Linked DNA regions of Homo sapiens: region 2 is linked to region 1. The links are contacts of gene promoters, found by promoter capture Hi-C in blood cells and fetal thymus (Javierre and others, 2016). All regions are on one chromosome and are shown on one strand. Each heading gives the region's core, a stretch centred on a gene start or on the middle of the fragment in contact. The rest is flanking DNA. Distances are from core to core; before and after follow the strand shown. Region 1 holds the start of REEP1 (receptor accessory protein 1). Region 2 has its middle 48 kb from the start of KDM3A.

Region 1 (7,406 bases), core at 414-2,913:
GTTAATAGACTGCTGGAGAAGGGGAACTGACCAGCCTCCAGCCTGAGCCTCAAAACTGGGTCAAGGCAGCATGAAAAAACTGCTACATTACAGCTATTTTATGGGTTCTTTGGAGACCTGAGATATGAGAGCATGTCTCATCTGCAGTCCCTTTGTTGTCCGTGAAGTCTTTCTTCTGACTATATCAGGCACACGCACGCACAGATTCTGCTACATCTGAGAGTACTAAGCTGTCTCCTGCGCTTCTCACATCTGACACTGAATTATACATGACACCATCATCAGCAAAGGACAGGGCGCTGGGAGCACCACGCAGAACCTAAGCTATTGGAGGGTGGGAAAAGCAGCAGCAGAGCCTAGGAGTAGAGGACAAAGCGTTTCCAGTGTAACAGAATAATGTACTATCTGCGGCCGGGACTAGGGTGAGCAGAGTGAGGCGCTCAGTGAGGGTGCAACATTTAAGAGGTGCCATAAAATTCAGCAACTAAAATACATAATAGGTGGCTCACTCCTGTAATCCCAGCACTTTGGGAGGCCAAGGCGGGCGGATCACGAGGTCAGGAGTTTGAGACCAGCCTGGACAACATGGTGAAACCCCGTCTCTACTAAAAATACAAAAATTAGCTGGGCGTGGTGGCGCACTCCTGTAATCTCAGCTACTCATGAGGCTGAGGCAGAAGAATCGCTTGAACCCGGGAGGCGGAGCTTGCAGTGAGCCGAGATCGCGCCACTGCACCCCAGAGCGAGACTCTGTCTCATAAAAAAACAACAACAACAAAAAAAACCACCATAATATTTAATACGGTATTTTAAAAAATACATAAAAACGTTTATATAGGGTGCACAAGTTCCCTTTTGCCTAAGAGTTCAACGTGGCTCAGCGGGGCACTGGTGCTAAGCAGTCGCAGCTTCTAGTCTCCTCCTAGGGCCCGGAGCAGCCCCCAAGGAAAGGCCTTCCCTAGGAAGAAGTAGCCCTTCAGCCCAGCCTAGAAGAAGGAGCTGAATCAAACCAAGGCAGGACGATGAGGCGTGGCGTGTACTGACAGGGAAGAAGAAACAGCAAATATTTGAGTCCAAGATGCCTGGAGGGAAAAGAGCTAGAGGACTATTTGGGGGAATGGTCTTGGCAACACGGTTCTAGGCAGGTACCACGATCATATAGGGACTCTGTAGAATTTTAAGTAGGGAGGCAAGCGCCCAGGTTTGTTTCTTATGCAGAAAGTGCTGAGCAACGGACAGACTGAAGAGGTTAGGTCTGGATCCAGGTAAACCCTTTATGAGGCTAACGCACTAGCTGAATGAGGGATGACAGCATCCCACCTAGACAGGTGCAGACAGATTCCCGAGGTTCAGGTTCGGACTTCAGTTTCTCCGCTGGAACGCTGAGGGTGGGGCAGCACCCGGGTCCCTGCCCTGCAAACGGGGCCGCTGCAGGGTTCCTTTGGCGGGGCCGGTGCCCCGGGGAGCGCGCAGGACGCGCCCGCCTTCAGCCGGGGGCCAGGGCGAGCGGGACGGGGCGGGCCCGCGGGTGCCCTGACCAGCTCACCGCCCAATCGCTGCGGGCCCGCCGAGCCCCGGGGGGCTGGGGCCGCCGCCGCCGCCGCCAGAACGTGCCGCGGCTGCGCCAACGCGCGAACGCCGGGCAGGGCGGCGGGCGCGCTCAGTCTGGCGGCGGCTGCCGTGAGCTGACTGACGTTCCGGGAACGCCGCAGCAGCCCGCGCCGCCCGCAGCCTAGCCGAGCCGCGCCGCCCGGGCCTCGCCCGCCCGCCTGCCCGCCATGGTGTCATGGATCATCTCCAGGCTGGTGGTGTAAGTGGCCTTCTCCCCCGCGCCCCTCCGTCCCCTCCCTCCCCGCCCCCGGCCCCGGGCTGCGCGCGCCCCTACAGCGCCCGGTCCCAGTGGCTCGGGCTATTAATACCCGGCGCAGCTAAATTTAGCAGGTACAGTAGCCGCCGAGGACGCCTGCGGGCGGACGGGCGGCGCAGGACGCGGCTGCTGCCCAGGAGGCAGCCGGCGCCGGCGGCCGCTTGCGGGGGGCTGGGCCGGGACGGCGAGGGCTGGGGCGCTCGGGGGTTCCGTGGGGGCTGCGTCTCGCCGCGCGCTGGCCGCTTTGTTCCTCAGCTCGGTCGATTTGCAGAGGCCCCGAATGGGCGCACCGCGGACACGCGTCTCTCTCCTTTGGCAGAAATGTGAGGTCGCCCGGCGCCGCGCCCCGCCGCCCCAGCTTTTGTCAGGTGGAAAGGACAGCGCAGACGAACCAGGGGCGCTGCCTGGAGGGTCAGCGCGGAACGGGTGGAGAGGCAGAGGCGGGGCTCCCAGTGGGGTTGGAAAAATCCTCCTTTTTAGGTGTCTGCATCGACAGCGGCAAAGGCAGCTGGGACATGGGAAGACGCATGTGAATCTTGGAGTAAACGCCTGGAGCCCCCGGCTCCGACTCCTTTTGCAGGGGATTGAGAGACAGGGGCAGGTACCTCCAGGAATGCACGGGAAATTTTCAAGTGACAGCCACCCGCATGGTGGCGATGACACCTCCCAGGCCTTGCAGGAGAGCGCAGAGTCATCTAGGGTGAGGTCTGTGTGAAGTCATTGGGGGTGGGCGTGGGGGCCGATTTTCTCCTTCAAGCCCCAGGACCTGTAGGCGTTTGAAGAGCTTCCCCGGTGGATTTATTCTCCTTTGGAGATAGACGTGGCTGTTCCAAGTCCCTGTTCTTCCCTAACCATCCTGGCCTGAGTCAGAACAGATTTGCCACCTGCTGTAGCTAGCAGGGGCTGAAATGGGTGTGGGGAGTCTAAGGCGGGGAGGAGGGTGGCAGGCACCTCGGGCTTTTTCTTTGTCTGAGAACACGGGGCTCTGGACCCCAGTGATTGTGCACCATCACTCCCCACGTTTTGAAACACCACCCATCTCCCTTCCCTTCTTTACTGATTTTCCCTTCCGAAGTGGATCTCAGCATTGTCTCCCGCCACCATTCAGGGCTTTCCTCCCAAAGCCAGTGTCTGTGCCTCTCAGCCCCCAAGTCATTCCGTGAAGGCCTCTCCACAGCTGTTCCTGACTGCGGGGTGTTTGCGCTGCACCTTGAGGTGGCATGTTAAATATTTAGAAGATTTCTGCTGGCAGAGCCGACATGAATAATACAGGAAAGTGGCTGACACGCCTTGCCCAGCCTCATGCCTGACCAACACTGTCTTGCCTTCAGGGTGGTGTTTCCTCTCTGGGATCGATATTGCCAGTGGCTTCTGGGAAGCCCTCAGGGTGGGGCTGGAGAGTTGAGCTGGCCTGGCTGGTGGGCTCTCTGTAGGTCCTGCTGGGCTGGGAGTGAGGGCATCTGATCCTGGGTCATGTGACTATCATTAGTTTTATTAGCACTGGGTCATGTGACTATCATTAGTTTTATTAGCACCTCCCTCACCCCTGCCCTTTTTTTTTTTTTTTTTTTGAGACCGAGTCTCGCTCTGTCGCCCAGGCTGGAGAGTGCAGTGGCACAGTCTCGGCTCACTGAAGCCTCCGCCTCCTGGGTTCAAGCGATTCTCCTGCCTCAGCCTCCCGAGTAGCTGGGATTACAAGCGCCTGCCACCACGCCCAGCTAATTTTTGTATTTTTAGTAGAGACGGGGTTTCACCATGTTGGCCAGCCTGGTCTTGAACTCCTGACCTAGTGATCCGCCCGCTTCGGCCTCCCAAAGTTCTGGGATTACAGGCGTGAGCTACCACGCCCGGCTCCTCCCCCTTTTTTACAATGAGCAACTGATGGGGGTGGAGAGGAGAGGCATATATTTGGGAGGTGTCTCAGGGATGTGCTGTTGCTTTCTAAAACAACCACACTCCCTAGAACCGAGACTTCAGAGAATTTAAATGAACAGCATTATGTGGCCCAAGGAGAGTTGATGGGATTTGGGATTGTTACTTCCACTATCAAGTCCAAAAGGTCAGGGATACCACTTATCCCCCAGTCCCTAATTCCCTGTAGAAACCTAGCATAAGCATATTGATTATGAGTTATGAACATCATTTTTAATAAGCAATACCTGTTTCATGAAGACAATATTTGTTAATTACAGGAAAATTAGAAAAGATAAACTGAAAATCATCCACATTTCCACCACACAGAGATAACTAATAATAATGATGGAGGGCATATTCTTCAAGAAATTTTCCTGTATTGCATATATGTACATATATTTGTAATTCAAGGATATTATTGATTCAGCCCAATATTCTACACTCCACATACCTTGAGGAACTTCTTATCAAGGGGAGGAATACTGTGTTTGGAGTCAGAACGCCCATGGTTCAAATCCCAGTTTTGCCTCTTGCCAGAAGATCCCAGTTCACAACTCAGATCAGAGCAGATGCTAGTCCACAGCTAGTTAACCTCATGTTGCTGTTGCAAAGATTTCCATGACACTTGATATATAAATTGCCAAGCACCACGGAGAGCACTAAATCAATGATGAGTCCCTCCTTCTGTCCTCCCCGGGAACCCTATGAGAGGGGCTCTCAGACTTAATTTACTCCTGTGGTTTTCAAACTGGGTTCCCTGAGGGCCACCCAGCCTGAGCAGATGGGCTCTGGGCTCCTCATCCCTGATTCAACCCAAGCAGTTCCCTTTTTGTTTGTCTTATATATTGGGGTTCTAGATAAAATACAATTCAGAAAAATATATGTGTTTTACTGCTAATAAAAACAACTGATCTAGTCCTCCCCCTCATCTGTAAAACTGCAGAGGAAATATGCCTTGCTCAGGGACACAAGATGAGCTGGTGAAGAAAACAGGCTCTGGATTTTTAGTCCAGTCCAGTGCTTTTTCCACCTTCACTCCCCACTGAGAAAAACATCTCTTTCAAGCTCCCTAGACCTCTGGTATGGGAGCATCCTATGGTTTTATCCGCGAGTCACGTTTTGTATAAGTAATCTTTTCATGGTTTTGTAAGCCTCTGTCACATCAAAGAACATGTAAGGAAGACCTATCACTGTGTTGTGAGGATAGAGAGGGAGTGTCTTCCTGTCTTTGTGTGGTCCCAACCATCCGACCAGAGGTATCACAACAAGCTGATGGCCTCCAGGGACAGCCAGCCAGTGCTCGTGGTTGTCTCTGCTGCTACTGGCCGTGAGCATTTTGAAGAAAGCAATTGTGGCTTGTTTCCCTTTACAACCGCTTTATCCCTGCCATGGGTCTTTCACAAAGTATCTGGCACCTGAATGCACTGAGTGAAGGTTGGTTGTGTTGAAGGAAATCCTAGGCCCTGGGGACAAGCAGAGTGGCTGGCTACTGCTGTCCCCTGGGGACGGAGGTCAGCAGGCATCAAGACAGGCTTGTGCCCACGGGCAAGGCTCTTAGAGTGAGGACCAGTTTGAGATGCTTATTTCTTGCCAGCTCTCTTTCTCCTAACTTCCTTGGCTCAGCCTGTAAAGAATTAAGGAAGAGATACTCAGTGCAATAGCACTCAGAACCAGGTTGATACCTTCATGGGACACAGGGGCTTATTTAGGACTTGCCTGCTTGCCTCCTTTCATTTTCTTTACATACAACTCAAGGCCTAGGCATGAATGAATTTCAAACTGGGGAGAGCATGTTTTTGTGCACCCTTTTGGAGGGGGGATACCAACGTTGCTCTGTGACTTCTTGGAAGAATATGCCATTTTGAAGCATTATTCTAAGGAGCAGGTATTGCCTCATTGTCTTGGCCAAGGCCCAGAATGTTGGCTGAACGGATCAAGAGCTTCTCACCCCTTATGGGATTAGTAGACTAAAACCCCAGCTCACTACATGGGGGAAAGAGAGTTCTAAGTCCACAGAATTTTCTGAATAACTAATGGCTGTGCAGAAAACATTTTATTTCCACATTGCACATTTTAAAAAATACTAGTTTTTAGAAAATACAGTGTGATGATCAAGACAGAGTCTTAGTTTGATGGCTGAAGATCTGGCTAAGTTCCAGGACTGGGATTTGGAGCATGAAGTCTGTCCTGGGTCAGGGATGTGCAAATGGATGGAGCTGGGAGGAATGTGGATTGTCCTCAAGATGTTCCCCAACTGTTGCAAAACAAATGGAAAAAAAAGAAAATATCGTAAATCCTTAAATATAAGCTAGCTTTTCTTTGGGGCCTGCTTTTAAAATGTGGCATGCAGGAAACTGATTCAGTTAATGGAGGGTTCCAGTTGGTTGAGGATTGATTTCCTGGCACTGTGCTGTAGTACACTGTGGGAGCTGGGTAAATGTTTCGGTTGAATTGTGAAAGGAAAGATGTTAGGCTAGTAGGCAGCAGACATGGGTTCTAGTCCCAGTGCTGGTCTGACTCACTATCACAGTCCTAAGGGCAACTCCCACCCACCTGGGCCAGCTCCCTGTCTAAGAGACAGGTTTTTGGCCACAGTCACCTTGCAGGTCCTAAGAGCTCCAAGAGTCAGTGTTCCTCTAGGTCCCTTCCTTCCCCAGCTGGCCTGTATGCATCACATTTATTTATAAACAGGAGGAGTATCCTCAAGGAAGTGAAAAATACTAGCTTAGATTTCTCCGCTGTTGAGCTGCCCTGTTTCTTTGTTTGCTAATCCTGCCTGTCTGCTGAGAAGTAGCTTTCATGCACTTCTTCCCACTGTGTCTTATTTGAGGTTAGCTGACAAGTGAGGGTCTCACCTAGTTATTACTGGGTCAGTCTCCCCACTTCCTTCTGAAGCCCGCTATCTTTTTTGGAGGGTGTATTATGTCGGGGGAGGAGGAGCCCTGGGGAGAATGAGGGAAGGGGGACTCAGGTCCTCTTTGGCCATTTAGTGAGGCTGCTGTTTTGTGTACGTATGAGTGTATGTGAGTGAACGTGTGTGTGTGTGTGTGTGTGTGTGTGTGTGTGTGTGTTTCCAGGAAAGTTAGGGAGGCTAGGGAAAGGAGAGATATGGCAGTGCAGCAGCCATAGCACGTGGCACCTTTAGAATTTCACTGCCAGGGATGAGCCACACACATGCCCAGCTGGTTACCAGAATTCTTAGTCTGGGGGAGTTTTTCCAACCCCCGAAAAGAAGTAAGGAGAGGGGGGTGCACTTGGGCACTAAGGATGTTCTCCTCTCGATTCTGGGCCTTGGGAAGGGAATTGGGATTCTTGAGGAACTGGAAGTTGGATCATTATATTCAGAGTATTTATTCTGAATTTTCAGATCTCATCTGTCTTTATACAGAAGCACATTATTTTCACTTTGGGATTTTTAAGTCACACTGGGGCTTCCCTGGGAATACAGGGAAAAAGGAAATATAGATCAAGGACCAACTATTGGGCACACAGTAGGGATTTCAGAAGGAATCTTGAAAGGTAATTTGGTATAGGCCTTCAAGCATGCGTGGGTACCCAGACCAGGATGGCAAGTGAGGCTGCCTAGGACACTGTCTTGAGGAGCAAGAAGCTGAGTTAGGCTCAG
Region 2 (6,734 bases), core at 201-2,700, 57 kb before region 1:
TAGGTGCATAGCTAAAGTATTTGTCTATGCAAATAGAAACGGGCACAACGGAAAGACCAGGGTCATGAAGGGAAAGTCAGCGAAGGGCGAAGGGGGTGGGGGGCAGAGAGCCAGGAGGTTTGCTGAGGCATTAACCGAGTCCCACGGCTGGCACTGGCTCTAGACTATGAGCTCACCCATACACAATGATCATGGAGCCTGTGCCACCTGATCCAGGGCTTGGCACAGGGTAACTTCTCAGTGTTTCTGACTGAACTGGGGGAGATTTATTGAATAGCATGGGAAGGAGTAGCAGTCCTCAAAATACTGCCTCCAGTGTTTTGTCCACGAAGATGAAGAAAATAACCAGATCTTGCAGCAGCACTGAAAACTACGACCAACAGGCAATCAATAGACAGATAAATTGGGATCTGATTATGAGGCAGATATAACCATTTTGAGGAAAGCACCCAAGCTACAGCTCCTGGTACGAACCCCAGCTTTGCCTTCTGAGTGCTGGATGTAAGTAAGCAAGCTTGATTCTTCCATCTAGGTTTTGTCCTTGGGCTCAGACACACAAAACATAGGAAGAACAAAAGCTGGCATTTAATCCACCCTCTAAATCCCTTGGATATTTATTTATGCACTTTGTGCATTTTTTGTACACTTCCCTTCTCTTTTATACCCTCCATTCTCACATCCCATATTTCTGGAGATAGAGGCTACCAATTCCAGGGAATGGGGCAGTAAGTGAGTCTTGTGTATGTGTATGTTGAGTGGGGGTTGGGGGAAGTGAGTGTGTGTATAGTACATCTTGGGAAGTTAGTTCTAGGAGTAAAGAATTATCGGGCCAGGTGTGGTGGCTCATGCCTGTAATCCCAGCACTTTGGGAGGCCGAGGCGGGCAGATCCCCTGAGATCAGGAGCTCGAGACCAGCACGGCCAACGTGGTGAAACCTAGTCTCTTCTAAAAATACAAAAATTAGCCAGGTGTGGTGGCAGGCACCTGTAATCCCAGCTACTCAGGAGGCTGAGGCAGGAGAATCGCTTGAACTCAGGAGGCAGAGGTTGCAGTGAGCCAAAACTGTGTGGGAGAGACCCAAAGGACCTTGCAGTAGTTCATCCAAGATATTCCATTCATTTAGGGAAACAGAGGAATGCAGACAGGGAGTATGAGAAAGCTGCCATATGGGTAGTGCAACGCTTCCCTGGGAAACAGGCAGGGAAATCAACCTACTCCAAGCTGTAGATTTGAGAAGAGAAACCAAGCACTGTGGAGATGACGACCCACAGCCACCCACCCCCAAATAGTCTGTGTGATCACACCTTGCCTTGTTTGATGCGGAGTGAAGAGAACTGGATTTATAACAACATTTAAAGTGACATTTAAATAATTTAAAACAATATTGGATTTACAACAAAATAATGATTTTTTTTTAACATAGTCTTGCTCTGTCACCCAGGCTGGAGTGCAGTGGCATGATCTCAGCTCACTGCAACCTCCACCTCCTGGATTCAAGCAATTCTCCTGCCTCAGCCTCCCGAGTAGCTGGGATTACAGGTGCGTGCCACCATGCCTGGCTAATTTTTGTGTTTTTAGTAGAGATGGGGTTTCACCATGTTGACCAGGTTGGTCTCGAACTCCTGACCTCGTGATCCACCCGCCTCAGCCTCCCAAAGTCCTGGGATTACAGGCGTGAGCCACCGTGCCCGGCCCTAGCTATCTTTCTTTTATCAATTTCTGATTTAATTCTATTGTAGTCTGAGAGCAGATATTGTGTAGTTTCTGTTGTTTTAAACTTGCTAAGATAGGTGCATGGCCCATAATGTGGTCTGCCATGGTGAATAGAATATATTTTTTACTTTTTAGTATGTGGAAAAACAGTATAATGAACTATATTTTCATCACTAGGCTTCAACTGTTATCAACACATGGCCAATCTTATTTCATCACTGGTTTCTCTCTTCCTGGCTAATTTAAAGCAAATTTTAGAAATTATATCATTTTATCAATAATTGCTTCAGTATATATTATAATGTGGGCATCACCATTGAGAATGTGGTCCTTAGGAATTCAACAAAATCATCCTGTACCAAGACCCACTGATATCCTTGCCTTTACCTACCCTACTCTATGCCCTATACCTTGGCCCAGGCTAGATGAATCTAATTTGTCTCTGTGCACTGAAAGGACTCTGCAGGTGGCTGATATAAATATGCCTTTGGGAAGCTACTTCGGGTGGCCAAGGGGACAGTATTGCAGTTGGCAGTCTGACTCCAGCTGTCACCACTTGTGAGCCATGTAGCCTCAGACAAGGCATTTAACCTCTAGAGCTGTATCAAGGTTTTTCTCTTCTGATTAAATGGAGAACATAAAACCTACTTCACCAAATTGTTATGAAGCTTAACTAAATAAAAGTGAAAGTCAGGTTAGTCATTATTATCACAGTTTATGCAGCAACACAATCATGTCAGGGAAGTCTTTAGTGTAGGGATTTCTTTTGCATACAGGAAGCCCTGTGCCAACTTTAGAGAGTCCAGAAAACCCCATGAAACCACAAGACCTAGGCACCAATTCCCAGAACAAGGCTGAATTTAGTCCCTGATAGAGTCTGAATCCTGACTATGGCAAGCTAGGCAACTCAAACTGTCCATTGTGAACTGGGCATTATCTAATCCACTGAGTCATAAAATTGGAATGTGCAGCAGTACTCAGTATAAAATGGAAATGGTGTTTACAAGATAAGGCCCAAGCAGGTATAAAAGGCTCAAGAATATTGCATAAGCAGGTGGCTCACCCTCCCACATTTTTTGCTTCTACTACTTTACCACCTCTCTCAGCCCACACCAGTGGCCTCAAGGGGAGTTGCCTAGGACTAGCTGACAGAAGAAGAAAAAGCACAGGCTTGGTTTGCAGTGGGTCTGCATGATAGGGCTGCAAGTGAACAGCTGCTGTTTTACAGCTCCCCTGAAGAGTGAGTCTGAAAGGCAAGGGTGAAAGGAAATCCTCTTAATAGGCAGAATTTTAAGCAGTACATCTGTTGTCCACTTACTGTAGAAGGCGAGATGCCCTGGAGTATGCAACTATACCAATTTATGATCAAGGATTAATGGATTAGAAGAGTGGTCACTGACTTCTGAGGAGCAAGATTGGAAGACTAGTGACAAGGAAGTCTTCAGGAAGTATGTGAATTAACTCTTCAAAACAGGCACTAAAAATGTACATATTTGTAACCACTATGAATGCTCACCAAAGGGCATCTACTGAAGAGGCAGCTCTCTGTGGTCTAGTGGAGTGCACAAAACAACCCATGTGTGGCTGAAAGTGATTTCCTTTCCCTAAACATTTTGATGCTTACTCAATGGGCCCATAAACAAAATGTCCACGGTGGCAGGGGTAGATTTTACATGAGCTCACCAAGCTGGATTCCTCTCGCCAAGATTAATCTAGCTAACGTCACTGCTGGGTGCCCAATGTTCTAACAGCAGAGATAACACTGGGGCCTCATTATGACACCTATCCTTGGGCTGCCAGCCAGCCCCAATGTCTTAGGTTGATTATACTGGACATTTTCCATTGCGGAGGAGACAGCAATTTGTCTTTATGGGAATAGATACTTATTCAAGATACGAGTTTGTCTTCTATGCCCACCATAGAAGTCCTTCTGCCAGCACCATTTGTGGGCTTAAATAATGCCTTACTCAACATCTGCAACTCACACAAAATTGCCTTTATTAAGGAGATCATTTTATGGTGAAGGGCATTCTATAGACGTGAGCTCATTACTTGTATCTATAGAATTCACTGTTTTTGCCATGTGCTACACATCACCCCAAATCAGCTGGCTTGATTAAACAGTGGAATGGCCTGTGGAGGGCTCAGTTACAGTGACAGCTGGGAGGCTAGGGTGCTGCCCCATAGCATGCAGTATATGCCATACACCAGTGGCCAAAACATGGTTATGGTCAAACTCTTTCCTAAAATTTTCCTCTGGATCTTTCAGAGGCTTTGCCTTCCTTTTAATTCTTCCTAATGCTATTTTCTCTTAAAAAATTCATCATTGGCTGGGTGTGGTGGCTCATGCCTGTAATCCCAGCACTTTGAGAGGCCAAGGTGGGTGGATCACCTGAGGTCAGGAGTTCCAAATTTCATATGGAACCAAAAAAGAGCCCATATAGCCAAGACAATCCTAAGCAAAAAGAACAAAGCTGGAGGCATCATGCTGCCTGACTTCAAACTATACTACAAGGCTACAGTAAGCAAAACAGCATGGTACTGATACTGAAACAGATATATAGACCAACGGAACAAGACAGAGGCCTCAGAAATCATGCCACACATCTACAACCATCTGATCTTTGAGGAACCTGACAAAAACAAGCAATGGGGAAAGGATTCCCTATTTAATAAATGGTGTTGGGAAAACTGGCTAGCCATATGAGAAAACTGAAACTGGACCCCTTCCTTACACCTTATAAAAACAGTAACTCAAGATGGATTAAAGACTTAAACCTAAGACCTAACACCATAAAAACTATAGAAGAAAACCTAGGCAATACCATTCAGGACATAGGCATGGGCAAGGACTTCATGAATAAAACACCAAAAGCAACGGCAACAAAAGCCAAAATTGACAAATGGGATCTAATTAAACTAAAGAGCTTCTGCACAGCAAAAGTAACTATCATCAGAATGAACAGGCAATCTACAGAATGGGAGAAAAAATTTGCAATCTATCCATCTGACAAAGGGCTAATATCCAGAATCTATAAGGCACTTAAGCAAATTCACAAGAAAATAACAACCTCATCAAAAGGTGGGCGAAGGATATGAACAGACATGTCTCAAAAGAAGACATTTATGTAGCCAACAAACGTATGAAAAAAAGCTCATCATCACTGGTCATTAGACAAATGCAAATCAAAACCACAATGAGATACCATCTCACGCCAGTTAGAATGGCGATCATTAAAAAGTCAGGAAACAACAGATGCTGGAAAGGATGTGGAGAAACAGGAACGCTTTTACATTGTTGGTGGGAGTGTAAATTAGTTCAACCATTGTGGAAGACAGTGTGGCGATTCCTCAAGGATCTAGAGCCAGAAATACCATTTGACCCAGCAATCCCATTACTGCATATATACCCAAAAGATTATAAATCATTCTACTATAAAGACACATGCACACGTATGTTTATTGTAGCACTGTTCACAATAGCAAAGACTTGGAACCAACCCAAAGGCCCATCAATGATAGACTGGATAAAGAAAATATGTCACATATACACCATGGAATACTATGCAGCCATAAAAAGGATGAGTTTATGTCCTTTGCAGGGACATGGATGAAGCTGGAAACCATCATTCTCAGCAAACTAACACAGAAACAGAAAACCAAACACTGCATCTTCTCACTCATAAGTGGGAGTCGAACAATGAGAACACATGGACACAGGGAGAGGAATATCACACACCAGGGCCTGTTTGGGGGTGAGGGGTTAGGGGAAGGATAGCATTAGGAGAAATACCTAATGTAGATGATGGGTTTATGGTGCAGCAAACCACCATGGCACATGTATACCTATGTAACAAACCTGCACGTTCTGCACATGTATCCCAGAACTTAAAGTATAATAAATTTTAAAAAAAGCAAAACTAAAGAGGTGGCTAACACAGTCATGTGGTTTGTTTAAAAAAGAAAAGAAAAGAAAAGAAAGATAGCTGGAAAATAGCCAAATACTTGGAGATTAAACAATACACTTTTAAAGAAAACATAGGCCAAAGAAGAAATCTCAATAGAGATTTAAAGATATTTTTAACTAAATAAAAATAAAAATACAACTTATCAAAATTTGTGGTATATAGTGAAAGCAATACTAAGAGGAAAATGTATAGCATTGAATTTATATATTAGAAAAGAAGAAAGATGTAAAATCAATCATCTAAGCTTCCACTTTTGGAAACTGCAACAAAAAGAGAAAATTAAATGTAAAGTAACAGAAAAGATAAATAAAAATTAAAGCAGAAATCAATGAAATTCAAAACAGAAAAGCAACAGAGAAAATCAACAAAGCCAAAAGCTGGTTCTTTGAAAAGATGAAAAAAATTGATAAGCCTCTAGCCAAGCTAAATAAGGCAAAAAGAAAGAAAACACAAATTACTAATATAAAAAATGAAAGAGGGGACATCACTACAGATCCCAAGAACACTGAAGGAATGATAAAGGAATACTATGAACAACACTGTGCCCATAAATTTGTTAACCTAGATAAAATGGGCCAATTCCCTGGAAGTCACATTTTGCCAAAACTCACCTAAGAATAAATAGACAATCTGAATAGACCTATAACAATTAGAGAGATTGAATAAATAATAAATTTCCAAAACAGAAAGCACCAACTCCACATGGCTTCACTGGTGAATTCTACCAAATATTAAAGGAAAAACATATACCTATTTTCTACAATCTCTTCCAGAAGACAGAAGCAGAGGAAGTACACCTTAACTTATTTTATGAGGTCAGCATCAATCTAATAACAAAATTAAACAAAGGCATTCTAAGAAAATAAAACTACAGACCAATATCTCTCATGAATATAGATGCAAAAACTCTCAACAAACATTAGATAATTGAATCTAACCATGTATAAAAAGAATTATACACCATGGACAAGTGGGATATACACCTGGTATTCAAGACTTGTTCAGCATTCAAAAATCAGTTAATGTAATCCAACACATCAACGAGCTAAAGAA

What was found. The method cuts DNA at HindIII sites, captures the fragments that hold promoters and counts their contacts. A CHiCAGO score of 5 or more calls a contact.
Region 2: a fragment that was not itself captured here is called in contact with the fragment with the promoter of REEP1 in region 1 in 1 of 17 cell types (total B cells); the score reaches 5.5 in total B cells.

The regions. Positions count from the first base shown.
Region 1 is chr2:86,331,883-86,339,288 of GRCh38, reverse strand. It overlaps REEP1 (receptor accessory protein 1), which reads left to right and starts at 1,663. Exons shown (of 9, transcript NM_001371279.1): 1 at 1,663-1,810. The coding sequence starts at 1,779. The HindIII fragment of the contact is 12,312 bases long and covers 1-7,406 here.
Region 2 is chr2:86,389,803-86,396,536 of GRCh38, reverse strand. No RefSeq gene overlaps it. Among named protein-coding and RNA genes, the nearest start is that of KDM3A, 48 kb to the left of the region's middle. The HindIII fragment of the contact is 1,867 bases long and covers 517-2,383 here.